Linked DNA regions of Homo sapiens: all the other regions are linked to region 4. The links are contacts of gene promoters, found by promoter capture Hi-C in blood cells and fetal thymus (Javierre and others, 2016). All regions are on one chromosome and are shown on one strand. Each heading gives the region's core, a stretch centred on a gene start or on the middle of the fragment in contact. The rest is flanking DNA. Distances are from core to core; before and after follow the strand shown.

The links. Contacts are between HindIII fragments. The CHiCAGO score rates a contact against its expected background, and 5 or more counts as called.
Region 1: a contact is called between the fragment with the promoter of DIAPH1 here and the fragment with the promoter of HNRNPA0 in region 4, in 6 of 17 cell types (fetal thymus, total B cells, naive B cells and 3 more). The highest score is 10.1, in fetal thymus.
Region 2: a contact is called between the fragment with the promoter of DIAPH1-AS1 here and the fragment with the promoter of HNRNPA0 in region 4, in 4 of 17 cell types (activated CD4 T cells, neutrophils, naive CD8 T cells and 1 more). The highest score is 11.1, in activated CD4 T cells.
Region 3: the fragment with the promoter of HDAC3 here is called in contact with the fragment with the promoter of HNRNPA0 in region 4 in 2 of 17 cell types (non-activated CD4 T cells and fetal thymus); the score reaches 7.8 in non-activated CD4 T cells.
Region 5: the fragment with the promoter of TAF7 here is called in contact with the fragment with the promoter of HNRNPA0 in region 4 in 2 of 17 cell types (naive CD8 T cells and naive CD4 T cells); the score reaches 7.1 in naive CD8 T cells.
Region 6: a contact is called between the fragment with the promoter of VDAC1 here and the fragment with the promoter of HNRNPA0 in region 4, in 1 of 17 cell types (total B cells). The highest score is 7.5, in total B cells.
Region 7: the fragment with the promoter of GNPDA1 here is called in contact with the fragment with the promoter of HNRNPA0 in region 4 in 2 of 17 cell types (neutrophils and activated CD4 T cells); the score reaches 6.6 in neutrophils.

What each region holds. Positions count from the first base shown.
Region 1 is chr5:141,617,584-141,621,343 of GRCh38, forward strand. It overlaps DIAPH1 (diaphanous related formin 1), which reads right to left and starts at 1,417. Exons shown (of 28, transcript NM_005219.5): 1 at 1,215-1,417. The coding sequence starts at 1,331. It overlaps HDAC3 (histone deacetylase 3), which reads right to left. Exons shown (of 15, transcript NM_003883.4): 15 at 3,298-3,760. RefSeq lists silencers at 995-1,191, 1,002-1,051, 1,112-1,771. The HindIII fragment of the contact is 3,913 bases long and covers 286-3,760 here.
Region 2 is chr5:141,556,730-141,560,311 of GRCh38, forward strand. DIAPH1-AS1 (DIAPH1 antisense RNA 1) reads left to right here and starts at 1,582. Exons shown (of 3, transcript NR_038333.1): 1 at 1,582-1,758. The region is part of intron 18 of DIAPH1 (diaphanous related formin 1); the gene reads right to left. RefSeq lists enhancers at 560-1,412, 1,173-1,467. The HindIII fragment of the contact is 6,603 bases long and covers 1-3,582 here.
Region 3 is chr5:141,634,697-141,638,254 of GRCh38, forward strand. It overlaps HDAC3 (histone deacetylase 3), which reads right to left and starts at 2,153. Exons shown (of 15, transcript NM_003883.4): 1 at 2,040-2,153; 2 at 1,852-1,934; 3 at 115-257. The coding sequence starts at 2,094. It overlaps RELL2 (RELT like 2), which reads left to right and starts at 2,301. Exons shown (of 7, transcript NM_173828.5): 1 at 2,301-3,558. The coding sequence starts at 3,530. RefSeq lists silencers at 1,626-1,920, 1,930-1,979, 2,040-2,329 and an enhancer at 2,840-2,889. The HindIII fragment of the contact is 11,354 bases long and covers 1-3,558 here.
Region 4 is chr5:137,752,317-137,756,188 of GRCh38, forward strand. HNRNPA0 (heterogeneous nuclear ribonucleoprotein A0) reads right to left here and starts at 2,047. Exons shown (of 1, transcript NM_006805.4): 1 at 1-2,047. The coding sequence starts at 1,750. The coding sequence ends at 833. RefSeq lists enhancers at 706-1,397, 807-966, 1,477-1,826, 2,088-2,779 and a silencer at 2,407-2,766. The HindIII fragment of the contact is 5,253 bases long and covers 1-3,872 here.
Region 5 is chr5:141,319,436-141,323,397 of GRCh38, forward strand. TAF7 (TATA-box binding protein associated factor 7) reads right to left here and starts at 1,349. Exons shown (of 1, transcript NM_005642.3): 1 at 1-1,349. The coding sequence starts at 609. RefSeq lists enhancers at 878-1,077, 1,658-1,717, 1,728-1,877. The HindIII fragment of the contact is 5,333 bases long and covers 381-3,962 here.
Region 6 is chr5:134,002,722-134,006,665 of GRCh38, forward strand. It overlaps VDAC1 (voltage dependent anion channel 1), which reads right to left and starts at 2,254. Exons shown (of 9, transcript NM_003374.3): 1 at 2,174-2,254. RefSeq lists enhancers at 978-1,027, 1,038-1,087, 2,738-2,857, 2,928-2,987, 3,028-3,097 and silencers at 1,318-2,357, 2,418-2,477, 2,518-2,567. The HindIII fragment of the contact is 5,979 bases long and covers 1-3,944 here.
Region 7 is chr5:142,010,914-142,014,330 of GRCh38, forward strand. GNPDA1 (glucosamine-6-phosphate deaminase 1) reads right to left here and starts at 2,114. Exons shown (of 7, transcript NM_005471.5): 1 at 2,082-2,114; 2 at 999-1,128. The coding sequence starts at 1,122. RefSeq lists silencers at 1,239-1,298, 1,970-2,239 and a cis regulatory region at 3,381-3,417. The HindIII fragment of the contact is 4,254 bases long and covers 1,204-3,417 here.

The DNA.
Region 1 (3,760 bases), core at 167-2,666, 3.9 Mb after region 4:
GCCATTTGTTTAGTAGAAAGATACACTAGTGTAAGGGCATAAATACCTGGAAGAGAAGACAAAAGAGCTACAGTTATAACTAGCTATTATAATGATCATCAATATCCAAGACTTTTCCTCTCCTGGACAGTGCCCCGTATCTTACAAAGCTTTTATAGCAAAAAAGCAACCAAACGGCTCCCTGGAGAGAGGCGTTGGTGTGGGCAAAAGGTAATGAAATATGATAGGGTTACATGTATATCACTATTCCTTCACTCGGATTGAAAGTAACTGGCACTTGAGGAAAGCTTACTCTTCTACAGGCACGCAAAGGGAAGCCGATAGTCGCCTTGGGGCACAAGAGGCAGTAGAAAAGGAGTAGAGGAGACGGTTATCATGGGAAATGTATAAAAAACAATTCAATTACAAACTTCTTGAACTCGCAGTCCAACTTTCTTCCCACAGGAGAGGTTTATCACCATCCTAGGTCAAGAAGGGCACAATCATGAGAGTTCTAATCCTCTGAAAAGTGATAAGCAACAGGGCAAAGAGAGAGGTTCTCTGGAGAGAGGAATACTGGTAAACAAATAAACGTCATGCCCCAGTGACCATAGGACCTGGGCAGGAGCCCATTCCTGTAATCGCAAGGACAAACGTCCAAAGAAGGAGTTGGGGGTAGGGCTCAAGTCAGGTAACATTCCTCAGGGGAAGGATTATCAAGTGACACCGGGCGGAGGGCCCACGGGGGACTGGGCGGGAGGAAAGTTAGCAGGTAAAAAGGATGAATCATGGAGAAGGAAGTGACCTTTAGGAGAAGGAAATACGAGAATACCAAAAAAGGTGTAAGGTTAAGAAGAGAAAATGGACCCAGAAGAGGGGACCAAAAAAGAGGAGGCGTGTTCGGGTACTGGAGGAAGAAGAAAGGAAGTGAGGCTGAGAGGGGAGAGACGGGGCTGAGAGCCGGCCGGGGATATGCGGGCGGGAGGGCAGAATGTAAGGGCTGGGGAACGAGGGAAGCCCCGAGGTGGCCGGGGCAAGAGCCGGGTGGGATTCCGGGGCTTCCCGAGGTCCCGAAGGGAGAGGATGTCGGGCTGCAGAGCTGCGGACCGAGCGAAACGAGGAAGGAAGGCGCGGGGGCGGCTCCCCAAAGCCGGGCAGGCGCCCCAGGGGCCGGCTGCAGGGGTCCAGAGGGCGGTTACGGGGCCAGGCAGGAGCGGGATGGGAGGGACACTCACAAATTTCTTAGATTTGCCGCCGTCGCCGCCCGCCGAGGGCAGCTCATCTGGGCTCCGGCCCTTCTTCTTGTCCCGGGTCCCGCGGCCGGGCCCCAGGCTCCCGCCGGGCGGCTCCATGTCCCGGTTCACGCTGGCCGGCGACCCCGCGCCTACGCCGCTCCCGCCTGGCAGCTCCGCGCCCGCCGCCGCCCAGTCGCTCTTTAGCCAGCCGCCGCGCCCCGCCTCATTAGCATGCCGGGCTGCGCGCGCCTCATGAATATACAACGACGACGCCTCGCTCCCGCCCGCCTGCCCCACTTCCGCCCGGACCCGCAGCCCCTACCAATGGGGGAAGGGAGAGGGGCGGAGGGAAGCCGCGGAAGCGCGCTACCTGCCCAGCGGACCTAACCATTCGGACCCACGTGGGGGGGGGTGGTGAGTGGGCGGTGCAGCTCTCCGCGGCCGCGGCGGAGAGCACCGCCCCCTGGCGGTTGGAGCAGCGCAGGCCTCTGGCTCCCACGCAGCGCCCACGTGGCTGTACAGCCTGACAGCCTGGACCCTCTCACATCCCAGACCAAAAATCGCGTGAGACCATTATCCTGGCAGAAAATTAGTGACAGGTTTTCCAAGAGAATGCAGTTTTCAATGTGTGCAATACCCATGGAACACATGAAAAAAATTATAGTGATAGCCACCATGTTTTGAAAGCAAGGTAGCAAGAACAGAGCTCGGTCCAGGGCAAGCACTAGACTAAACCAGACTCGCTCTGGAGTTTAATTTCCTAGTTCGAATTCCAGGTTAGGTACCATCTAATTGTTTCTAATCAGGACAAACTAATTATTGCCAACATGTGCCTAAACAGCAATAACAGTTACCACTTAACCATGCCCTTTGCTCTCTGCTAGGCACTAGGCAAACACTCTACATGTATTTTTCTAAGTCCCCACAGTCCCATGTGATAGATTCTGCTAGCCTCACCATTTTATAAATAGTAAATTTGGACTTTTGAGAGTTGAAGTGACTTGCCCAAGAACGCATAATTGATATAAAATTTAAACCCAGCTTAGTCTGATTTGCTGCCAAACCCTATGTTTAACCAGGATTCCCCACTGACATAAACCAAACATGAGTGAAAAGAATGAGTATTCTCCAAGAGTATATTCTTTGCTCTTCTAGCATGACTTTCTCCCTAAGCAATTTCATCCATTCTCCCAGCTACATCTGTCCCTTGTGTGACAGTTACGTGGCTACCAGTCGGCCTTCACAATATGGACTGAATATTCTTGACCACAGCTAGCAAGATTTCAAGCATAAGTTCCTGAAGGGCAGAGTCAGTGACTTACTTACTCTAGAGCCCCAGTACCTAGTCAAGGGCCTGAGATATACCAGGGACTCTGCCAAGCTGGCTGGCTCCTAAATTTGGCATTCATCTCTCTTGTGGTCCAGACCTTCTGATGGTGATCGGATAGAATGTTACATAGAGCTGTCCATCCCATACTTCAAACTTGACTTAGTGCTGAGCTTTCCAGACATTTTGTCTAAAAAGTCCAAAAGCTACTTTCTAAGCTAGTGTTGAGAACAGACAGAATCAGAGAATGGAGGGGAGGAAGTGACCCATCTATCAGTCCTCTTTCTTGTATCAGTCTGTATCTGCTACAATATTTATCATACTACTGACTGGAATGTAAACTCTTCTAGAGAAAGGTTCATGTTTGTGGCTACTACAGTATTTAGCATTGTTCTTCACATAGACAGATAATGGGCAACTTCTTCTGTCAGGCACTGTGCTAAGCACTTAACATGTTTTATCTCAGTGTATCTTCACCAACTAGCATCACTACTCTAAACACCCAGATTCAAAAACCTGAAGTCATCTTCTACTCCTCTCAAATCTGCCCAGGTTTGTCTAACTCTTAACCAAAATCCTCTATTAACTTCTTATATTTACAATAATAAATGTAGAATACATACACAGGGCCTAACGTAGGATAAGTGCTGAATGAATGTTAACTATGCTTTTATTACATGCATCATCATGCCCATTTCCCTCTCCTTTCATAAATAGGAAACTAGCAAGAATTAACATTCCTAGAAAGGCGAAAGGTACAAAAAATACCGACTTAGTTTATTGGATAAAAACAGTGGTAAAATGGACATAAAGCCAAAAGTGAGAACAGAACATTTTCATATCCTCCCCACACTTGAAAACATACTTCCCATCATCTGGGATTCAGGTGTTAGGGAGCCAGAGCCCCTTCCAAATCTCTCTCTCTTCATCTTCCCTGGAAGCAAGGGGAGGAAGAAGTCAGAACCCAGGGGAGGAGGAAGTCAGAGGCAATCTCAGTCCTTGTCTACCCGTTCATCCCTCAAAAATCTCTGGGTTCGAGGGAAGCAGGGAAGAAATAAGGGGCAAGGGGGGCTAGGGACTGGCCTCCAGGGCCCACTGCCAATAATGTCCCAGATAGCTATCCTTGTCTGTATCTCATCCCTAATAGGTACCATTGTCAGGCCTTGGGAGAGAGAGGAAAAGCAGGTAGATGGTTCGAGAACCAAATGTGGTCTCCAGA
Region 2 (3,582 bases), core at 332-2,831, 3.8 Mb after region 4:
CACCCAGGCTTGAGTGCAGTGGTGCAATCTTGGCTCACCACAACCTCCGCCTCCCGGGTTCAAGCAATTCTCCTGCCTCAGCCTCCCGAGTAGCTGGAATTACAGGCATGCGCCACCAGGCGGCCCGGCTAATTTTTGTATTTTTAGTAGAGACGAGGTTTCGCCATATTGGCCAGGCTGGTCTCAAACTCCCAACCTCACGTGATCCGCCCGCCTCGGCCTCCCAAAGTGCTGGGATTACAGGCGTGAGTCACCGCGCCTGGCAGAGATCTTTTTAAAAGAAATTAAGTCTATAAATAAATTGCAAAATAAAAAATAAAAAAGAGCATAAGAGAGAACCTATAGAGACATCAACCAACTGCAATGTGTAGACTTTATTTGGCTCTGATTCAAATGAACTATTAAAAAAAACAACTATCATAAGATAATTTGGGAAATTTAATACTAACTGGCTATCTGATGATAAAGAATTTTTTAAATGTGATAATGGTAGTAATTATCTTCTTTTAAAAGTCCTAATTTTTTTGACACACATTCTGAACTGCTTAAGGATTAAATAATATGAACAAGGATACATGTAAAAATAATGGGTGGCAAAGACAAAGTTGATACAGGTATATGAAACAAGACTAGCTGTTGATTAAGTTTTTTAAATGGGTGATGGACATAGGGGTGTTCATACTAGTCTCTTTACATATATGTGTGTATGTGTGCGTGCATTTTTTTCACGGTTTCAAAAATAACATTTTTTAAAAAAATTCAGGACCATTTCCCTAGAGTCCTTGGGGCATTTGATTCTTCCCAGACAGCTAAGTGAAAGGGGTTCCTTTTTTTCTTCTTTTTTTGGGGGTATCTTTTCTTATCTGATCCTATAATTAAGAAAACTGCCCTAAACATCTCTGTAGCAAAAACACCTAAACCCAGGATTAGAGTCTAGATGAGGCAGAGGGGATGCCCTGGCCTGCTGCCTCAAAAGCTAGCACTCTGTCACTGTTAGTAGGTGTCCGGCAGCCAAACCATTTTGCTCTGTGCTCCGCTGGCAAGGACTTGCGGCATCGATTGCTCAGGATGCAGGCAGCCTGCAGCAAGGTGTGTCCCTGATGAGCAACTGCTGAGTAAAAGAGTACGTAGCTGCGCCTCAGCCAGTCTCCCTCCCTCTGCAAACCAGACTCCTCCTTTGCCTAACTCCTTTTTTTATTCCTGCGTCACAAATACAAAATGGAGTTAGCTGGGAGCAAAAACAATCTGTCTAAAATGGCTGAATGCGGTGGGGAGTGCCAGACAGTAAAGCGAAGGGAAAGGGCACCCCCTGGCGGCCAAGATAGGGAGTCTGTTTTATGTTCTTCACTACTTTTGCATTTCAAACGAATCAGTCCTACAGAGTCCAAGTTAATTTTGTCACAAATCTTGATGTTGAGCTCTAAAATTCAACTAATAGAAACTGAGGCACAAGAAGGGAAAATAATTTTCAGTCTCTAAAGACAAAGGGCACAAGTCAACAGCCCTGAGTTGCAGTTACTGCTTGGTTATGATCAGTAATAGTTTCTAGGAGACAACAGAACGGAAGGGAGGTCCTTTTATAGTACATGATTCCCCAGCTTCAATAATGGACTAATGACCCCCGGAATCCCACCGCTATAGCCTGCACTTCCCCAGGAATTCCTGTTTAAGGCGTCTCTCAATGAAGACCACAAACAGGAAATGGAGGAGTGGGGAGTTGCCTGACATCCTGGAAACTACGTTCTTAAAGAACTGCAGGTGGGAGTAAGTGGGATAGAAAAATGGGCTTTTCAAAAACTGTTGAGAACACGGACTGAGTCAGTTGTATCCGCACGGCTGGAAGACAGGCAGCTCCACCTAACCTCACTCACTTACTCAGGACCAAAACCCTACTTGCTCTGCCCAAGATAAAGCCTGCAGCATTTGTACCTATTCTACAGGGAACACCCTCCATTATCTTTATCTTACGCTACACCTCCCTTGAGTAAGCCAAGTACCTATGACTAAAAAAGAACATGTAAGAAAGGTGGAAAAAACAGAAATTATCTGGAAAAACTTGTGGGTACAAGTCATTAATGGTTGCCACTACTTAAATGAGGCTGCACAAATACGCCAGTTTATCCAACGTCCCTAAAGTGAGATAATGGCAACACATACAACACAGGTGCACAAAAATCACAAGTTGTTAAAAAAAAAAAAAAAAAGACTCTGGCATCACTATAGTTTTCTCTGAAGAAATAGGGTCTTTGTGGAAGAATCTTAGATCTCTCAGGCATATATGAAAGATCAGAACACTTAATAATCTCTCCAGGAAATAACTTTCTGTGAGGGTAACATAGCTATGGAATTGCCAAGTTCACCTAGCATACAATAAGCCATGTCTATTAAGCACTACATCAACTCTCTAATTCTGGGAAGAGGAGACAGTAAGAGGGTCTTAATGTTAATATAAGTGTTAATATAAGAAGCTGCCCAAATGGAGGACTTCTGATTTATATTCTTCATGGTTGTAATATACATAAGGGATAAATTCAGCACTTTAAAACAATCACTAAGGTATACATTATAGAAGGAAAAAATATCATGCCAACCGAATAGCAGTTATCCCTGCCCAAAGGTAACCGTATCACTGATACCTTGGCCAAAATATACAACTATCTGCAAAATCCCACAGAACTAGACCATTACAGATGTGCAAGCTGTAAGGAGGGACAGGGCAAACTGGCATTAATGAACAAACCTAAAGGACAAGAACAAAGCCACACAGAATCCCAAAGGAAGAACCAGATGCTGAGAGTTATAAAGAAGGGGACAGATATAAGTCTGGAAGGGTAGCAGAAAAGCAGTATTAAAAATCTGGGCACTTCACCAAGCATTTGGTCTTTCAGATAATATAGTCATTGAGTTTCCCACAGATACTTTCCCAGCACACCCAGGATGGTGACTCAATTAGGGAGTGCTAAAAAGAGGTCTGCTTCTAGGATGTGGGTGGGGAAGGACTGGAAGGACAGGCACTATCCCAAACAAGGACTCAGGTATGTCAGCAAAGAGGACAGGTTTATGCAAGGAAACAATAGGCTAGAGGGCAGAAGAAAAGGCATTAAAATAAGGTACTAGAAATAAAACTCTTTTCCTGGATTAAAAAATGTTTTATTATGGGAAAAATTAAACATTCAAAAACACAATTATTAATCCCCATGCATACATCACTCAGTTTCAACAGTTATCCACTCGTGACCAATTCTGTTTCATCTACACCCCACTTCTAAATCCCATAATGATCCGCAATTATTTCTGTACACATCTCTAAAAGATGATGACTTTTTAAAAAATGCCATGAAACCATTATCACACTAATTTCCAGCTGTCTCAACTGTCAAGTGTTTTGTATAGTTCATTTGGATCAAGATCTAAATAAGTTCCATATACTGTACTGGTTGATAAAATTTAAAATTCCCTCTTAATCTATATGTTCCTCTCCATCTCATTTTTTCCCCTGAAATTTATTTGTTGAAGAAATCAGGACACTAATCACTGGTAAAAATCAAGAAGCACTAGCACAGTTACTTTACACTGTCAGTC
Region 3 (3,558 bases), core at 903-3,402, 3.9 Mb after region 4:
TATGATGCATTGACAAGTAGGCCCCCCTTGAGATCTTCCCACTGCTGCCAAAAGACCTCACTGAAGGGCTTGGCATTAAACTGTTAGACATCAAAACTCCCAGTCCTCCCTCACCAGTCATCGCCTACGTTGAAGGCATTAAGACTCTTGGTGAAGCCTTGCATATTGGTGGGGCTGACTCTCTGCAGGAAGTCAATGTAGTCCTCGGAGTGGAAGCGGCACATGTCATGTTGGGAGGCCTGGTATGGCTTGAAGACCTCGGGATGGAGACACAAGATGAACCCAGGCAGGGTCAGCCCCACTCCACAGGCTCAGACCACCCATACTGAACCCAGTCCTGGAGACTATATGAAGCCAAACATAGCATTCCCCTCATCCCACAATCCTTAAGTCAGTAGAGAGACTCCGATTAACCAGGTAAGTTATTACAAATGAGCCCCCTGAAGACCACTTCTTTTCCTTTCCACCTCCAGCTCAGCCTATCGTACCTTCTCAACTTTGAGCCCTGATCCACCTGCCCTGTTCCTTGGAATCTCCTATTCCCAGTTCTCTCCATGCTCATCTCCTCCCCCAAGCTCTGATTCTGTCCTCTTTCCTCTGGATTCTTCTTTCTGGAGTCAAATATATGGGATATATGTCAACTTTCTAATTAAAATCAAAGATTTATTATCTTTGGAAGGTCAGGGGGATGTGTCACACCTCTTTGAAAACTGCACAAGAAAGAGCTTTTCTTCTCCCAGAAAATGCACACAGGTACATACAGGCAAACAATCTCAAGGGATATAGATTCCTGCACTAACATCACCTCAGTCTTTTCTATGACCAGTCCATTTGTCTGTGCCTTGGCACAAGCAATGAACATTCATTCATATTGTTCACTAGTTTCCCTAGCAACACATAAAGCCTGGGTTTAGCTGTTTTGTCTTATTTTTTCTTTTGAGACAAGGTCCTCCCTGTCAACTCAGGCTGCTGATCATAGATCACTGTAACTTTAAACTCCTGGGCCCAAGCCATCCTCTCGCCTCGGCCTCCCAAGTAGTTGGGACTACAGGCACACCCACCGCACATGGCTACTTTTTTTATTTTTATTTTTTGTAGATGTGGGTCCCACTGTGGCCCAAGCTGGTCTCCAACTCCTGGCCTCAAGCGATCCCCCCCATTTCAACCTCCCAAAGTGCTGGGATTACAGGCATGGGCCACCACGCCTGGCGTGGCTTAACTGTTACTATCCCATATCACAGCCATAAATTCCAAGCTGGGAAGACAGCATGTGTATGTCTGGTAGATGAAAAACTGGATAGCGATTAAGCAGAACCATGTAGAGGTATTCCAGGCTGAAAAAGGAATATCTAAAATATCGCCTCTGTTCCACACGCACATACACATTTACAAAGACGGCAGCATCGTTCCACCCTGGAGCCCTAGCTCCTTGGAGGTAAAGAAAGGTGGTAAAAGAGGAGTGGGAACTGAGGGTAAACCTCACACCCTGATACAGTGATATCCGCTCCCCTAACCCTAATTCCTGAGGCCAAGGCCCTATCCACACTCTAAAATGCAGAGGAGGAACACACCTTCTGTCTTCAAACCAGCCCCACATCACGCTAACCCTAGGCCAAGGGCTAGTGTGCCTACAGTCAGAGGGTGGCCGACCTGAGGTGAGAAAGTACTTTCCATTAAGCAGAGGACGCCACCCCCAACACCCTGCACTTTCAAGGTACTCCTGGTGACTTCTATCCAGCTCCCCGATACTCTAGGGGCGGGTCGCACTTCATGCACTCAGTCCAGCCCACCTATCCCTACGGCCACAGCTCGCCCCACCCCCCAACCCCCGGCCGAGGCGGCGGAACTCACGATCATCTTCTTATAGAGACCGTAATGCAGGACCAGGCTATGGGTCAATGCCAGGCGATGGGGCTTCATAGGGTGTCCAGCTCCTGGGGGTGGGGAGAAGAGAGTTCGTCAGCTCTCACCCCTGGAGTTGCAACCCCGCCTCAAAACCTCCGTGTCCCAACCCCTCATGCATATCCCTGTTTCCTCACCGTAGTGGAAGTTGCCCACGTCGGGGTCGTAGAAATAGGCCACGGTCTTGGCCATGGTGCCGGCGGGAGCAGGCCCCGCACCTCCGCCGCCCGCCGCCCGCGGCCGCCGCCAGCCCCTCCCCGGCCGTGCGTGCTGCGCAAGCACGTAGCCGGCCTCTGCGGAACTGGGCGTTGCGGCCCCGCCTCCATCCACACCCAGGCCACGCCCCCAGGGGAGCTCCGCCCCTCGCCCGGCTCAGCTCTCCCGGTATCTGGGGCTTTGAGCGTCCCGGGTTGGGCAGGGAACTGGCAGCATAGCTCCTAGGATGCGAGGGCCATTTGTCTCCGGCCGGGGGTCAGATCCTCGGGAAGCCGAGCCATCCCATCCAGCCGCTTGCCCCAAACCGGGCGCAGGCCGTGGTCACTTCTCTAGGAAGCTCCGAAGATCCCGCCACTCCGTCCCTCAAAGGTGCGGAAAGCCGGCTTCCCCCAGCCCTCGGAGAAGATTCCTGACTCTCCGCTCGGTCGGGGCATCTGAGGGCAGGAGCTGCGCCAGGCGTACCGGATAGACCAGTGGACAACACCCACGCCGGACCGCCTGTCCCCTACCCGGACCCAGACTCGGCGCCGCACATTGCCCCGGGGGGGCCCGGCGCAGTCACGCGCGCGCAGAGCTCACGCTCTCCGCCCCGCACACCTGCGCTCCGCCCCCTGGTCCTGGGCCCGCGACGGGTGAAGGCATTTGGGAAGCCAGGGCGGCTGCGGAGGCGATCTCCCTGACCCAGGGCCGGAGTTGCCCGGAGCCTGCCACCGCTCTCAGCCAGCCCGCATCCTTCTCTGTTCTTCCCTCCCCCCGCCTGCCACGGCGCGGGTATCCGCAGCCACAGCCCGGGGCCGGTGAGGCGGCGAAGGGGGAGGGGAGGAATCAAGGGATGAGCGCCGGAAGGGCGTCGGGGGCCCTGAGCCGCACTAGGACGCCCCTGGAGCCGGAACCCCAGCAGAAGCCGGAACCAGAACCAAATCACCGGTACCGGGTCGGCCAGGTGGTCAGGGTGGGAGAAACCAAAAAGGGAGAGGGGTGCGGGAGTACTGAGAGGAAGGGGCTGCAGAGGCCTGGCTCAGGCCGGCGTGGAGGAGGTGCGGGCGCTGACTCAGGCAGGATTTCTGCTCCCGCCGCCTAAGAATGCCGTCCCATCTCGTGCTGCAGTGTCCTTGGGAGGGACAGAAGCGCGAACAAGCTGGAAAGGGGAACGCTCGGGGCGTCGGGGAAGCGGGACCAGGGTCGTGGTAGAGAGCTTGCGTTGCCGCTGACCTCTTGCCGAAAGGCGAAACAGCACTCCTGGCCCGGACAGCTCCCTGGTTGGGTAGGGGGTGGGGCCGGACCTCAGCCGGACGTCTTAGACGTGCTTGTTTCAGATCCTGAGGACGGCATTCCTACCCCTCCCCCATTCCCAGCTGCAGCCCCCTAAACCCAGGAGGCGCCCTGGCCCGCGCTCGCCCCCCAGGGCCTCATGTCGGAACCACAGCCTGACCTGGAACC
Region 4 (3,872 bases), core at 797-3,296:
AAATTGTCATAGAAATGACCAACCATGTCAAGATGATAAACAATTCGCTTAGTACAAGAGATGGATGCACAGAAACTTAAGAGTTTAAAAAGCCACATCCACCACTTCAAAAGTTTTGCCTGTAAGGGATATAATTCAACACGCAACTAGCAGGGCAACAGGAGAGGGGAAAAAAACCACAGGACCTCTTAAGTTTCTCTAAGTACACATCAAGAATAAAGAATTAACACGTAAAGTCTTAAACAAATATCCCTTAAAAAACGGTACGGAATGGATCCTAGAAAAAAAATGTTAGACATGTACGGTCAAACACAATGATTTATTAAAAATAAAACGTAAAAATGATTTTTGTACATATGCTTCCAAATTTCAGGCATGGGATCCAAGTAGATTTCATAGAAAACGCTGTAGCCAGGTTATCAAGTCCTTACAACAAAGTAAACTACCCCCCACCCCAACCCCCACCCAGGTTTTGCTACAGAATCAGCAAGTTCACTCCCTCCCTCCCCCCAAAAAACACAAATTAAAACAAGACATTTTGCTAGTATAAAAACGACCAAGGTCCAAGTAATAATAAAAAAATAGAGTCCATCAATGACTGTAACACAAAAATGTGTATGTGGGGCCGAGTCCATCTTCAGAGGGAGAGACAAGAGAGGTGGCAGGCAAATAGAGGAACACCCCCAAGGGTAAGCAGCCTTAGAAGTGGCTCCCCCAAGGGCAAAACAGGGAAGGCGGTGTGTGTGAGGGGGTGGGGCTTAGGAGTTGACCCCACTTGGGCTGTTGGAAAGAGCTACCCCTATAGCCACTCCCAGGCATTTTAAATTTTCTTTTAGAAGGAGCTGCCTCCATAGCCACCCCCACCGCCATAGCCGCCTCTGTAAGGTCCACTATTACTGCGACCGCCCCAGCTACTGCCTCCACCGCCGCCGCCGCCGCCGCTCTTCATGGGCCCATAGGAGGACTGATGCTGGCTGTAGCTGCCGAAGCCGCCGAAGCCGTTACCGTAGTCGCTCCCACCGTAGGACGAACCGCCGCCGCCGCCTCCGTAGGCATTGTAGCCGCCGCCTCCGCCGCCGCCGTAACCACCGTAGCTGTTGTAACCGCCGCCGCCGCCCTTGGAAAGGCCGTTCTGGTCTCGACCACCGCCGCGCCCCCGGCCGCCTCGGCCGCCCCGGGAGGATCGGGAGCCGCCTCCACCCCCACCGGAGTAGATATCCTCCTTGGGGACTGCTTTCTTCACCTCCACGCGATGGCCCTGAATCGGATGGAACTTGACCACCGCGGCCTTGTCTGCCGCGTCGTGATTCTGGAAATACACGAAGCCGAATCCACGCTTCTTGCCGGACTGCTTGTCGGCAATAATCTCGGCCTTTTCCACGGTGCCAAACTGCGAGAAGTGCTCGATCAGGTCGCCCTCAGCCACGTCTCCTTTAAGGCCTCCGACAAAGAGCTTCTTAACCTTGGCGTGGGCACCGGGCCGCGCCGAATCCTCCCGGGACACCGCCCGCTTCAGCTCCACAGTGTTGCCGTCCACGGCATGGGGCGAGGCGGCCATGGCGGCGTCCGCCTCCTCCACATTGGAGTAGGTCACGAAGCCAAAGCAACGGGAGCGCTTGGTCTGGGGATTCACCACCACCACGCAGTCCGTCAGAGTCCCAAAGGCCTCAAAGTGGCCGCGCAGGCCCGACTCACTCGTCTGCACATTGAGGCCGCCGATGAACAGCTTACACAACTGAGAATTCTCCATCTCCAAGGCCCGGGCCTTGCCCCCGCCCTGCGAGCTCCGAGGTTTCGCCGTCGCCGCCGTTATCGTTGGTTAAGGCCTCTACACAGCTTGGGCCCAGCCGTTGCTGGAGCCACCCCCGCCGCTCACCGACGGGGAAGGGAAAAAGGGAAGGGGAGGGAAGGAAGGAAGAGAGGAAGGGGGAGGGAAGGGGAGCGGTGCCGGCTAAAGGGCGAGCCGAGGAGACTGGAAGACAACCAAGGCCACCGCTACCGCCGCCGCCGCCACCTCCGCTCCCCTATCTGGGCACCACACAAAGAGGCCGCTGAACGCGCGCGCACCCTCCCCGAGGCGTGCGTCACCGCCGACGTACGGCAGCCTAGGGCTACCAGCCAATCCCCGCCTCGCTCCCCTTAATCCCGCCTACCGCGCCGCAGCGCCGCTCTAGATCACGGACTCCCCGCCCTCCGCGGTCTATTCAAGCCCGCGGCCTGTGCCGCTCCCGCTTCCGCTTCTGCCAGCCCACTTTCATTCCCGAGCGCCCCACTGTCCCTTGACATGGGTCCCTCCCTGCCCTCCGCGCACCACCGCGATTCATTTCCTCCTAGCACCGCGGCTGTTCCCAGTGTTTCTCCCCCTCCCCTTTACTCATCCCCTCGCCCAACTCCGCAGTGGCGTTCGCGCCAGCCCCTTGAGAGACATCTGAGTTCAGCCAATCACCGTGATCCCCTCGCACCCACTTCCGTTTTCGGCAGCTGTTGGACGGGCGCGCTCCCCGGTGCGCGCTTGCCCCGGCGCCCCCGGCGTGCAGAGCCGGCCTACCACCCCCGCGCCTTCTCCCGCCCAGGGCTTTGCCGGGGAGAGAGCAGGGGGCGCGCTGGGGGCCATTCCCAACGGATGCGGTCTGGGGCGCCACGCGCGGGCTTTTTGAAAACTTGACTGTTGGGGTTGGGGGCCCGGATCTACCCGCCGCCTCTCCGCTTGTCCGCTACACCTGGCGTCCCCGCCCCACCTCCCGCCCGCACAAAGATGGAGGGCAGAGGCCTGGTCCACGAAGGCGGTTATTAACCGTTTACAGTGGGCCCGACGTGCGGTTAAACTAAAACTTTGCCACGTGGCCCTGCGCAAAAGCGAGCCCGAGGCGGCGGTGTGAAAGACAACAGGGAACCAAAAGAACTTCAGACATTAGGAACCAGACGAGGCGCGACATCCCTGCCTCCCTGCCACCCTCCCGCCCTCCTTGAAGCCCTCCCACGATGCCCTCTCAGAGGAGGCCCTTTCAGGTCCCCTTGGCACACTCCAGCAGACATTTTCATTTAACCTCAGTGAATGGTTTTTTATGTGTAATTTACATCATCTATGTGTTGCTTTCTTTGAACTAGAATGTTAGCTTTTTTGTTGTTGTTGAGATGGAGTTTCACTCTTGTTGCCCAGGCTGTAGTGCACTGGCGCAATCTCGGCTCAGCAACCTCCGCCTCCTGGGTTCAAGCTGTTCTCCTGCCTCAGCCTCCTGAGTAGCTGAGATTACAGGCGCCCACCACCACACCCGGCTAATTTTTGTATTTTAGCAGAGATGGGGTTTCACCATGTTGGTCAGACTGGTCTCAAACTCCTGACCTTAGGTGATCCATCTGCCTCGGCCTCCCAAAGTGCTGGGTTACAGGCGTGAGCCACCGCGCCTGGCCTAGAATGTTAACTTTGCTTTTTTTTTTTTTTTTTTGAGACGGAGTCTTGCCTAAGCTGGAATGCAATGGCACGATCTTGGTTCACTGCAACCTCCACCTCCCGGGTTCAAGCGATTCTCCTGCCTCAGCCTCCCAAGTAGCTGGGACTACAGGCGGGCACCACCACACCTGGCTAATGTTTGTATTTTTAGTGGAGACGGGATTTCACCATGTTGGTCAGGATGGTCTCAAACTCGTGACCTAGTGATCTGCCCGCCTCGGCCTCCCAAAAGTAGAATGTTAGCTTTTTAAAGATGTTGGGTTAGACGAATGTTTTACAGAGAGAGAGATCATATACCCCTAAGTTACTGCTTTTAGTGCCCTCACTCAGATGGGAATGGAAGAAAATTACAATGGCTTCCATTTATTGAGCCTTTGTGTGCCAAGCAAGATAAATGGGGTGGGACATAGTTAATATGAGG
Region 5 (3,962 bases), core at 99-2,598, 3.6 Mb after region 4:
TCCTGGAGAAGAGATATCCAGGCCTTGATTTTCTGCCTCCTTTGTTTCATCTTCGGCAATTATTTCCCACCGAGTACTAACAGCTTCAGCATCTGTACTCAGCAATCGTTTCACTTCTTTTTCAACATCTGGAGATTCAATATATTTCTTCTTTGCTGTCTTCCGGAACCTTCTCTTCCTGACATTCTTTAGAGGCAGAGTAATTCCGTGGTTCCAGATAAACTTTTTCTCTTTGTCCTTATCCTTTTTCTTGCTTGCTTTAGGATCAGTGCTAGCAACTGGCTCCTCCACAGGAGGATAGAGATCACCATCAACTGTGGATACAAGCATCTGACAGATATCAGCTGTCTTGTAAAAAGTTTTTTTATCAATGGTTTTCAAGCTTTCCATAACACAGGGCAGGTCTACTAATTTTGAGGCCAATGGAACACGGTCCACTCTGACGATTCCATGACGCCCATCAGGATGTAACTCAATTGTCAGTCTGTCCTTGAGGTTGACATGACCAGACTGTACTGCCCTTCTCACAGTAGAGGCATATTCTGGAGGCAGACGTAAGATAAACTGGCTCTCCAGTTCGTGAGGAGCATCATCTTTGCTTTTACTCATCTTTATTTCCTTGTGATTCACTTCTCCAATAAATGCTGGTTACACTAAAAAGTTCCAGCTACTGCAATAGTTTAAAACACCAGTTTGCTATGAATTGAAATCTTTTAATTACAAGAAGTTCTCTGTAGATCAGCAGCTAAGCGTCTATTTTGCCTTAGTTTTTATTTAAGCTCCAAGTCTTTTCTCTAAATATGCTGTGACCGAATACCAGTCGTTAACACAAAGGCTTATTCACAGACTTAAGTTCATTAAATCAGATGCAATGCCAAGTCCCAACCTCTAGGTGCCGCTGCCGGACAACGCGGAGAGAGCTAGCTAGCTAGCTAGGGAACAGGAAAGCAAATGGCGGCTCCCCCGGAACGGTTTTCGGCCCAGAAAGCCCAGCAGAGATACTTTCAACTCACAAACTCTCCCGGAACAAAGACACTCAAAAAATCAGGGCTCAGCGAGCTCTCTTCGCCTCGGGTACTTACAATCCAGTGACGATTATAAGTTCAGTTTCACCGGGCCGGAGCGAAGGGAAGAGGAGGCCGCAAGGAGCCAAGCGGGAGAGAGCCGAGCGTCTCCTTGTCGTTTCCTTAATTCTTCCTGCCGCTTGGCAGAGTGATCCACTACCGATTACTGATGAAAGGGCCCGGGATGGGCAGCGCGAAATCTTGCCGAGAGGCGCAGCTCGCATCACCAGACCCCGCACCTCGCCGGCCCTCCGTCCGGGTCGCCTACCCAGCAAAAACGGAAGTGCTACGTCGCGACGCGGGGCGGGAGGCGGCTGTGAGTGACAGCCCCTCCGGGCGGAAGGGCGGAGCCCCAGCTAGCGCAGGCGCAATAGCGCAATTACGCTGCCCAGCGTGAAACTCATCTTTTCGCGAGAACTTGTTTTTCCGGGATGGAAATGACAGTGTTTCGGAAGAGCTGTTGGTTTCAAACTATTTAGAGCTTGGAAGTTCCAAGAAAGACACAGATTCGTCCCCCGCTAAGCCAGCACTTTTACGGGATCGCTGTGGGGCCGGATGGCTTCTAGACTTCCGGGTGATTCCGGGAGATGGGGGACGCCTTGCAGTAAGCGTCTTTGCTTCTGGAAACATCTCGGATGTTCCCTAGAGTCTAGCCTATCTGGTGCCAATACAAGAATGTGTAGCTACTATACAATGGATTTCAAAGTACCCAAATCAATGGAGTGAGGAGGACATGCAGCTTACTATATAAGTCTCTCTCTATATATATGTTTGTTTGTTTGTTTTGGAGATGGAGTCTCAGGCTGTCACCCAGGCTAGAGTGCAGTGGCACAATATTGGCTGACTGCAACCTCCACCTCTGGGGTTCAAGCGATTCTCCTGCTTCAGCCTCTTAAGTAGTTGGGATTACAGGCACGTTCCACTACCCCACCTAAGTTTTGTATTTTTAGTAGAGAAGGGGTTTCACCATGTTGGCCAGGCTGGTCTCGAACTCCTGACCTGAGGTGATCTGCCTGTCTTGGCCTCCCAAAGTACTAGGATTATAGGTGTGAGCCAGCGCGCATGGCCCAAAGTCTGTATTTTTAAATATAATTCCCTGTAGGGGAATTGTGCCTCTGGTTTTACTTGTGTTCTATAATACTTCTGGGGAAACAAGGGTGATTCCTTTTTATGTGCTTGATTTAGATGTAAATGTAAACAGAGAAGGAAGTGTTCTTTTGGACAGAATTGTCTGATAGACTGAGCATCTGGTTAAAGTAGATATAATTGAAGTATTGTTTCCTGTCTCTCATGTACAAGTAATTTTAAATTACTTTGACATTTTTTTTAACTCCACCTCTACTATTTTGCTGTTTTCTGCTTGTCTTTTCTATCAATAGTCAGGTATTCATCAACACATATTTTTAGTATTTTAACATAACTGGGTAACAGTTGGTACTTATTTCTATTTATTTCCATTTATTTTTAAAATATCTGGGAGAGCATCAAGGCCATTAATATTTCATTTCTATCCTCTAAAATATTAACAATTGCCCCTAAATTTAAGAGAATTCTCTTAAGATGTAATTAACATTTCCAAAATTCACTTTATTCTTGTATGATTGAAAGCTCCATGATAGTGATCTTCTTCTATCCTGGTCATTGTGTCCCAGTGCCTAGTACCAGAATGTGGGAGATACACAAAAAATATTTGCTAATTGAATGAAAAAACTTATCTGTCTAGAAAGATCATAGTCTCAAATCCTGTAGTGATTTCTGAGAGAAAATACATTCTTTGTCATTTTAAAATGAGATAGAGCCACTTTACATACATTTCCTTTCTAGTCAAGGACAATTCTAATTGTTATGAGGTGGGGAGGTTTACTAATAGTGTGTGTGAATGTGGTTTAGCTAGAATGAGATACTGTTGTGGGAGGAAATTAAAATGACCTGACGTTAGTTTGGTTTTTAATGTTAATTTTAAAAGAGAAAGTATGCCCTTCCAGATAACGGTAAATTATTTCTCTTTGCTTATAATGTGTTGAAGAATGTTAGCTGACTTACTTGTAATTTCCAGAATGATCTATTTCCTCTTTTTCAAAGATGAAGTTTTTTCTGTTACAGGCTTGAGCCACCTCGCCTGGCTGTGTTTTGTTTAACCATATACAATGTGAGGTCATTATACATGAAAATAATCCAAATATTACTCAGCATCTTCCCTATGAGTTTTATGATGCTCAAATATTCTTATCATAGAAGGTAACTTGAGATAAATTGTATGCAATTTTTCATTTTCCAAAATTACTGTGTATTTTAGTTTCTAAACCTTTCTTTACATGGAATATTGCCAGACATAGTTAAAAGGATTAACTGAGGTTTTCTTAATGTATCTAGCTCCTTCAGTCCTGAAATACATTTTCTGCTTTTGAGTTTAACACATTTTCTATATGCTGTTTTAGGGGAGGAAATTATATTGACCCTAAATATTTTTTTAAATTGGATTTATCAGTAGACATTAAGATAATCTGCTGGGTGCAGTGGCTCATGCCTGTAATACCAGCACTTTGGGAGGCCAAGGCGGATGGATCATCTGAGGTCAGGAGTTCGAGACCAGCCTGGCCAACATGGTGAAACCCCATTTCTACTAAAAATACAAAAAAAGGGCCAGGCGCCGTAGCTTACGCCTGTAATCCCAGCACTTTGGGAGGCCGAGGCGGGTGGATCACGAGGTCAGGAGATTGAGACCATCCTGGCTAACACGGTGAAATCCCGTCTCTACTAAAAATACAAAAAATTAGCCGAGTGCGGTGGCAGGCACCTGTAGTCCCAGCTGCTCGGGAGGCTGAGGCAGGAGAATGGCGTGAACCCAGGAGGCAGAGTTTGCAGTGAGCCGAGATCGCGCCACTGCACTCCAGCCTG
Region 6 (3,944 bases), core at 1,004-3,503, 3.7 Mb before region 4:
TGGGAGGCGGAGGCGGGTGGATTGCTTGAGGCCAGGAGTTTGAGATCAGCCTGGCAAACATGGTGAAACCCCGACTCTACTAAAAATACAAAAATTAGCCAGGCGTGGTGGTGTGTGCCTGGGATCCCAGATACTCTGTGAGGCTGAGGTGGGAGGATTGCCTGAACCCAGGAAACAGAAGCTGCCATGAGCCGTTATGGTGCCACCGCGCTCCAGACCTGGCAACAGAGCAAGACCCTGTCTCAAAAAAAAAAAAAGTCCAGGATCAAAGGACTATGGTCTGGGCCTGCAGCCCTTCATATGCCCATTCAATAATTCCACAAATACTCAATAAGCACCTACTATGGGCCATGTACTGGAATAGTAAAACTCTGTCAGTAAAGATGGGTGGATTCTGACACAAGAGTGCATTTACCCCCACAGACCCTTCTCAAGCACCTACTGTGTGCCAGGCAGCACCACCCCAGGCACTGAAGACAAAGTAGCACAGGGCCTCAGTGCCTCAGTCTGACCCTTAGGAGCTGAGTTGGTCCAGAGCTGGGGTGGGCAGAATGAAGGCTGGCCCTCGGTAGTCTGCTCTGGCCTTCTCCTGCCTCAGTGGAGAAGTTTAGGCAACAGAGGAGCCCTTTCCCCTATCTCCCCAGGAGAGGGGAGGCTAGTCAAGGGGACAGGGACCCCGGGCGGAACGGGCTCTAAACCAGGGTCTGCTCCTGCATTCAAGATCTCCACATGCAAACTTACTGCTCCAGCTTGACAATGTCCATTTGTAAACTTACAAGATTTTTCATAAATTAAGCTGAAAGTTACTCAATACCTGGTATACAAATGCTTGTCAATAATAGTGAAAGAATGTTTAAAAACAGGAGCTACATTTATTGAACCCCTTCCACAACGCCACGTGTAGCAAAATGGTCTGCGGGGGATGGGCTGGATTCACCCAAAAAGCCCCAAGGGTGTCAGGGTTTCTACTTAGCCCTTCTCCACACCGGCACTGTTCTAAAGGTTTCATGCTAATTAATTCATTTTATTATTCCCCAAAACTCATCGAAGGAGAGGTACAATTGCTCCCGTCCTATAGATGAGAAAACGAAGGTATGGGGACTTCCCAGCTGTGTGACCTTGTACAAACCACTAAGACTGCGGGCCTCTAATCCAAAGTCAGGCTCCGAAACAGTTTCCAGAATGCACCGCCGCATTTGGCGAATGAATGAACGACCGAACCAGTAATCACTCCTAAGACCAAGAAGGCCACATCCTTCCCCGTGGGGCCTCCTTTTCCGAGGCCAAACCTTCAGCCCAGGCCCGAGCTCCGGCCTCTACCGCCTAAGTCGACTCTCGGCCGGCGCGTTCCGCTCTAGAAGGCTCTGGCACAGGCGGGCGGTGCCGGGCGCCAGCTTCTGCGGGCGTGGGCCGGCCAGGGCGCGTGGGCCTGGGGACTCGGGGCCACGGTCGTCACGTGAGCTCATCCCCGAGGCGGCAGCGTGGCCGGCACCCGCCCGCTGGCCTGGTCCGGCGAGCGTGGGCGGCGAACGGGTCCCCGCCGGATGCACGCTGGTGGGATCCAGGGCCAGAGGGCGCCGCCGGGGAAGGTCACCTAGACGCGCGGCCCGCCGGGCCTCCACGCGGCCGCCCTTGCACTTCCGCCCGCAAGCCCGGGCCGCCTCTCGCCGCCAGCCGCAGGCGTCTCTGGACCCTCGGCCTCGCGCTCCCCAGCCCAGACCTGTTCGGCACCCGCCTGTGCGGCCTTCTCTGCCCGCCCGCTCACCAGCCAGGCCCGCGCCGGCCGCTCGCGATCCCTCCCCGCGGCCGGGCTGCCGGGGCCCCTCGCCCGCTCCTCCCTCAGCGCCTCCCTCTCAGCTCCCCAGGGGCCTGGCCCCCGCCGTCCAGGGCGCAAGGAAGCCGGGGTCCTTTTCCGCTGCGCCTACCTCAGAGGATGTGGCGGCGGGCTCGGAGGCGGCTACGGCGGGGGCTGCGACGCGGAGGCAGGGAGCCGAGCCAGGGAGCGGAGCCGAGCGAGCGGCTGGGCCAAGGGCGGGGCGGCGCGGACGGCGGCGGCGCGGACCCGCCTCCCCTCCTGCGCGCCCGGCCCGGCGCGCTCCGCCCCCAGGCCCCGCCCGGGACAGCGTCCAGGCCGGGCCAGGGTCCCCATCCCGCTAGCGAGCCGCGTTCTTACCCTTCCGGGCCCCGCTGCCCCGGCAGCAGACACAGGAGCCTGCGGGCGTGTTGCGGGCGCGCGGGAGGACCTGCGTGAGTCGGGGCACGGGGAGGCGCCGGACTGACGTGTGCACCGTGTGTGCGTGCGCAGGGACACGCGGGTTCTTGCTGGAAACCTCGGCCCCAGTGGCAGCGCTCGGGAAGGGGGAGGAGGCCTTCCGATTCTCTGAGCTGTGGCCCGGAGGTCCCTGCGCTAATGGAAGACGCGCGGGGCTCCTGGGCCTCCTGCTTGGCCTCCGCGCTGCTAGATCCCCCGGGAGTTGATGTGGCCGGCGCTGGACCCAAGCCTCGCCTGGGTGGACAAAGTGGCCCCCGGCCCCCCATCAAAGCCCGCGTGGGCCCCATCCCCCGAGGGCAGTCCCAGGCCCAGCGCGGACACTGGGCGCCTGGGGCGGCGCAGATACAGAGTAGAGGCGGCGACTGTTGCTCCCGAGCTCCGCGCTCCGGATACAATGTGTCTGGCGCCTCCGACCCGCCCGCGCGGCGTCTAGACAATCTCAGAGAAAACCCCTGTGCGCCGATTTTGCACTACAGATTAGCGATTTTCTCCTGTAGCAAAGCTACTAGCAGCCAATTTCCATGCATTTGAGAGGCAAAAAGACAAAATAAAACAAAACGTGGATTGGGTTTTGCGAGGTCCCTGCTGGGTCTCTCGGCGCGAGGAGATCACGCCGGTTATGGCCGGCCGGCCGACTGAGGGCACCCCGGGTAACCCCCGCGACCAGCCGGGGCGTGTCCTGCGGGACCCAGTTAGTGTGTGTTGAGTGAACGGTCACCTCGCTGCTAGGCCTAAGCGAGTGGTCTCGTTCACCACTGAGTGTCCCCTGTGTTACGCGCGAGGCCCACTCGAAGCAGGTTTCGAGAATTAATTCGTAGATGGACGAAGATTCTACACATCCTTCGCCTTTGATCAACAAACGTCCTGGAAGGCTTGAGGCGTCTAGGGCCCTGTGGAGGAGGTGCCGGGTTACAGAATCAGGACACTCCTCACAGCCAGCTGCGACACTATCTAAAGCAGTGGGCAACTGGGGCTACGGAGGAGGCAATCAGGACTGGCTGCTGGGAAAAGGCGGCAGATTAAAAGTGGCGACTGGAGTTGGAAAAGGTGCTCCAGTGGGATAGGGTGCTGAGGAAGAGGGCAGCTGATACAGAGTGGGAGTGGGGTGCAGACAGGTTACCTAGGCCCTGTGTAGGGGCTGGGGGAGGGGTGACTGGGAATGTAAGGAAGAGCCCCCTTCAAGATCCTGAGGAGTGTAGGACGGATTCTATGACCCTCCCAGGCGCACGAGTTGCCTGGGAACTCTGGGCTTCCCAGCCTGGTGGTCCCCACCCCGCACACTGAGACTGGTGGGCAGGGGGAGGACAAGAACTCAGGGAGGCCGGGCGGGACAAGGCGGGGCTCCAGGAACCCCACAGGGCTAGGAACAGATGCCGGTGCAACCCAGTTTTGAGGCTGGGAGCAAATGTCGAAGGGCTTCCTCCCCTCCAGCGCCACCTCTCAACTCCGCTTTAAAGAACCAATCTGGGCCGGGTGCAGTGGCTCAAGCCTGTAATCCTAGTACTTTGGGAGGCCGAGACAGGCAGATCACTTGAGGCCAGGACTTCGAGACCAGCCTGGGCAACATGGCAAAACCCTGTCTCTACTAAAAATACAAAAACTAGACGGGCGTGGTGGCGCGCGCCTGTAGTCCCAGCTACTCAGGAGGCTGAGGCACGAGAATCGCTTGAAC
Region 7 (3,417 bases), core at 864-3,363, 4.3 Mb after region 4:
TTTTATTGGCATACAACCATACTCATTCACTTATATATTGTCTTTTCTTTTTTTGAGACAGGGTCTCACTGTCACCCAGACTGGAGTACAGTGACACAATCATGGCTCACTGCAGCCTCAATCTACTGGCTCAAGCAATCCACCTACCTCAGCCTCCCAAGAAGCTGGGACTACAGGTGAGCGCCACCATGCCAGGCTAATTATAGCTGCTTTCAAACAACAGAAGGGTTAAGTTGTTGCAACAGAGACTATATGGCTAGTGAAGTCTAACATATTTACTACTGGCCATTTACAGAAAAAGTCTGGACTGCAAGGAAGACCAAAAAAAAAAAAAAAAAGGAAAAAGAACAAGTTTGAAGACCCCTCCAACACACACACACACACATAGACACGCTAATGGATGGGTCAGGTAGGGCCACTAGGGCAAACCCATCCATCTCTGAAAGAAATAATCAGGACATTTGTCTTGAGGAGCTGGGGTCAAAATATCTTTCTGAAAAAGCAACATTTTGATTTTTTCCAAAAGAAATTAGAACTGTTTTTTATTTAGGTCCTGTGTTTAATTAAGCCTTACAGAAAATTACCTAAGTGACTATCTTTTCAATTCTCCCAAGGATGGTACTTAGCTGGTACCCCTCTAGATGCAGAGAAGAGAAATTAATTCATTACATAAAATGAATGCCTTAGGGTATCAGGACTTAATTCTGTTAAGAAACCCTGGTGGACAGGGCTGACTTAGGATGTAGCCTAAAAATCAAATTCTTCCTGCCAACCAAGATCCCTTCTGCTCCAGGATTCTGCAGGGACAGGCAGCGACTAAACCAACCCATAAGGGAAGCTGGGTCCTTTGTATGTGGAAGGGGCAGGAAGGTGCTCTCTCAGCACCAGTACCCCAGAGCCCCCGTGAAGTCCCTTGGCTGAGTGAGCCGGTGTACCTGGCCCCTGTTGCCTACTCTCTCCACCCTTATCCACGGCACCCTCTCCATCCAAGAACGCACCAGTGGGGAGCCCCAGGGTGAAGTACTTCTCTGGCCCTGGGTTAAACTGGATGATGCGGTTCCTGATGTATTTAGCCGCCCACTCGCTCGCCTGAGAATAGTGCTCCAGGATGATGAGCTTCATCTTGTCCTGCAGTGGGGGAGAGGGGATGACAGAAAGGAATCAATGGTAAGGGGCAGAGAAAGAGATGGAGGTGGTGGGAGAAGCTTCTCTTACCCAGCAACAATCCCCTTCCCAAGCTGTCTGAGCCAGGAAAAAGGCCTTTCTATTCACAGAGGAGCTAAGAGGCTAGGCCAGTCGTCTCCACCACCCACAGACCACGAGGAGGCGCCACTGGGGGCAGATCTGGGTTCTAATCTCAGCTCCTTCACTTACCACCTGCAGGACCTCGGTCAAAGGACCTAAGTTCTCTCTGAGCCGTTTCCTCCTATGTAAAAATTGGGACAATAGTACCTACTTCACAGACTTCACGACGGGTAATATGAAATGAGAGAATGCATGTAAACAACTTAGTATTTTCTACGTTGGCTGTTACCATCCAGATAGATGCTCGGCTCAGCCCCGCCTCCCTCATCCCTGCCCCTACCGGAACGGGATACCCTACCCCCTCCCCGCCGTCTACCCCAAGACTCTTCCTCCAGAAGTAGAGAGGTCATGGGATCATGCTGGGCCACTAGAGCAGGTGGGGCAATGAGCTCTGCCTGGGGAGCTGTGTGCTCTCTCTGGACTAGCGGAGGGGTCTTCCTACTGGCCCACCTTGCTTTGCGAACCCCTCTGGGTCTTCAGTTTCCCCCAAAGCACAAAAGGGAAAAGGTAATCGCTCCAGAAGGAGGACATTTTGTTCCCCCAGCACTGCGGTTAGTGGGAGTGTGAAGGAAAGAGGCGAAGGTGGCCCGCGCGGTCGTCGGTGGGGTACAGCGTGTCCCCCACCCCCATTACCACCCCATCGCCCCTCCGATCCCTCCTGGAAAATGTGTGAGGGCGGCTCCCCGGGGTCCCGACCCCGAGTGCCGTAGGGCTGGGGCAGCGCTCCGCGCTCCGGCCCGCGAGGAAGGTCCCCGCCAGCCCTGCTACCCACTTACACGGACGCCTCCCGCGGCGGCTGCAGCGACTGCGCCGGCGGCCCGGCCCCGCGCGGGTCACGTGGCTGCGGGTCACGCGGCGCCGCGTGCGCCGCCCGCCGGGCTGACTCAGCTTGGCCGCAGCTACCCGGACCGACTCTCCCAGGTGGAGGAGTTCCGGCCACTCAGTCCCACCTCGGTCCCTGGCCCCGGCAGGCCCTGGAACAGACCTTAAAAAACACTTTCCCTTGGGAGGCGGGGATTCGAGTCTGGTTTGTGTGTGTGTGTGTGCAAGAGGAGGGAGACTTGAGGGGCGCCGGGTCGCCCCCAGGAATACAACCCCCTGGACCTTGGGGCTGGGGCCGGGGGGTTTTAGTGCAGGGGTTGAGCTGGGGGCAGGCAAAGCAGAATCGCTTCCTCAGTCTCCTAGGGTTGGGCCTGGCTCTGCCTTCAGTTTCTTTCTTTGTTTAGATGCCATTTATTTACCCAAGTATTAAAACTTGTGTTGTTTAAAGTACAATTGGGCTTTTTAATGTCCTTTTTTAAAGATCAAACTTTGCAGCATTATATAATAGAGAAAAAGGCAGGCCCCTGGTTTCCCCAACTCCCCACACCAAGATAACCATTGCTTAGTTTAAGAGTACATTCTGAATTGCTTTCTTTGAATATGCTTACACTGTTATTTTACATAAATGGGAACACATACACATGAGGCTTATATATATCAAGGCTCGGATATTTGACCTGCATTATTTCACTTAATCCTTATTAAGCTCCAGTGAGGTAGGTTTGCCGTTACTTTTTAACAGGTGGAGAAACTGACGCTTGGAGAGAAAAATTAACTTGGCCAGAGGCACAAGTGGTTTCCCTTGTGCCTTCAATTCAGGGGGATCTGTCCAAATCCAAAATCCATGCTTTTTACCGCTAGCGGGCACTGCCTCCCAGCTGGTATGACTGGATTTGGGACGCTTCCATATCAGAAAAAGAGATCCATCTTATTCTTTCCAGTCAACATTAGAGTGTTCCAGACTTCTAGGGACACTTGGGAACTTTCCATGCGGAGGCTGGAGGAAGGACTTGAGTGCTGGTCATCAGTAACATCTTCCATTACATAGGGTTTTGCCAGAGCTTTGTGCGCATTATTTCATAGAATCCCGCCCAATCGTCAGATATGATTACCGCCATTTTATTGATGTGGAAACTGGGGATCAAAGGCGTACAGAGACTTGTGATATATGACCTCATAGTCTGACATCCCGGACTTTAGTCAGTGCTAGGGAGCAGTGGTGAGACCTTCTGAATCAGCCTAGTTTTCCTCCAGCAGCAAAAGGCCAAAGGAATCCTGGCTTTATGCCCA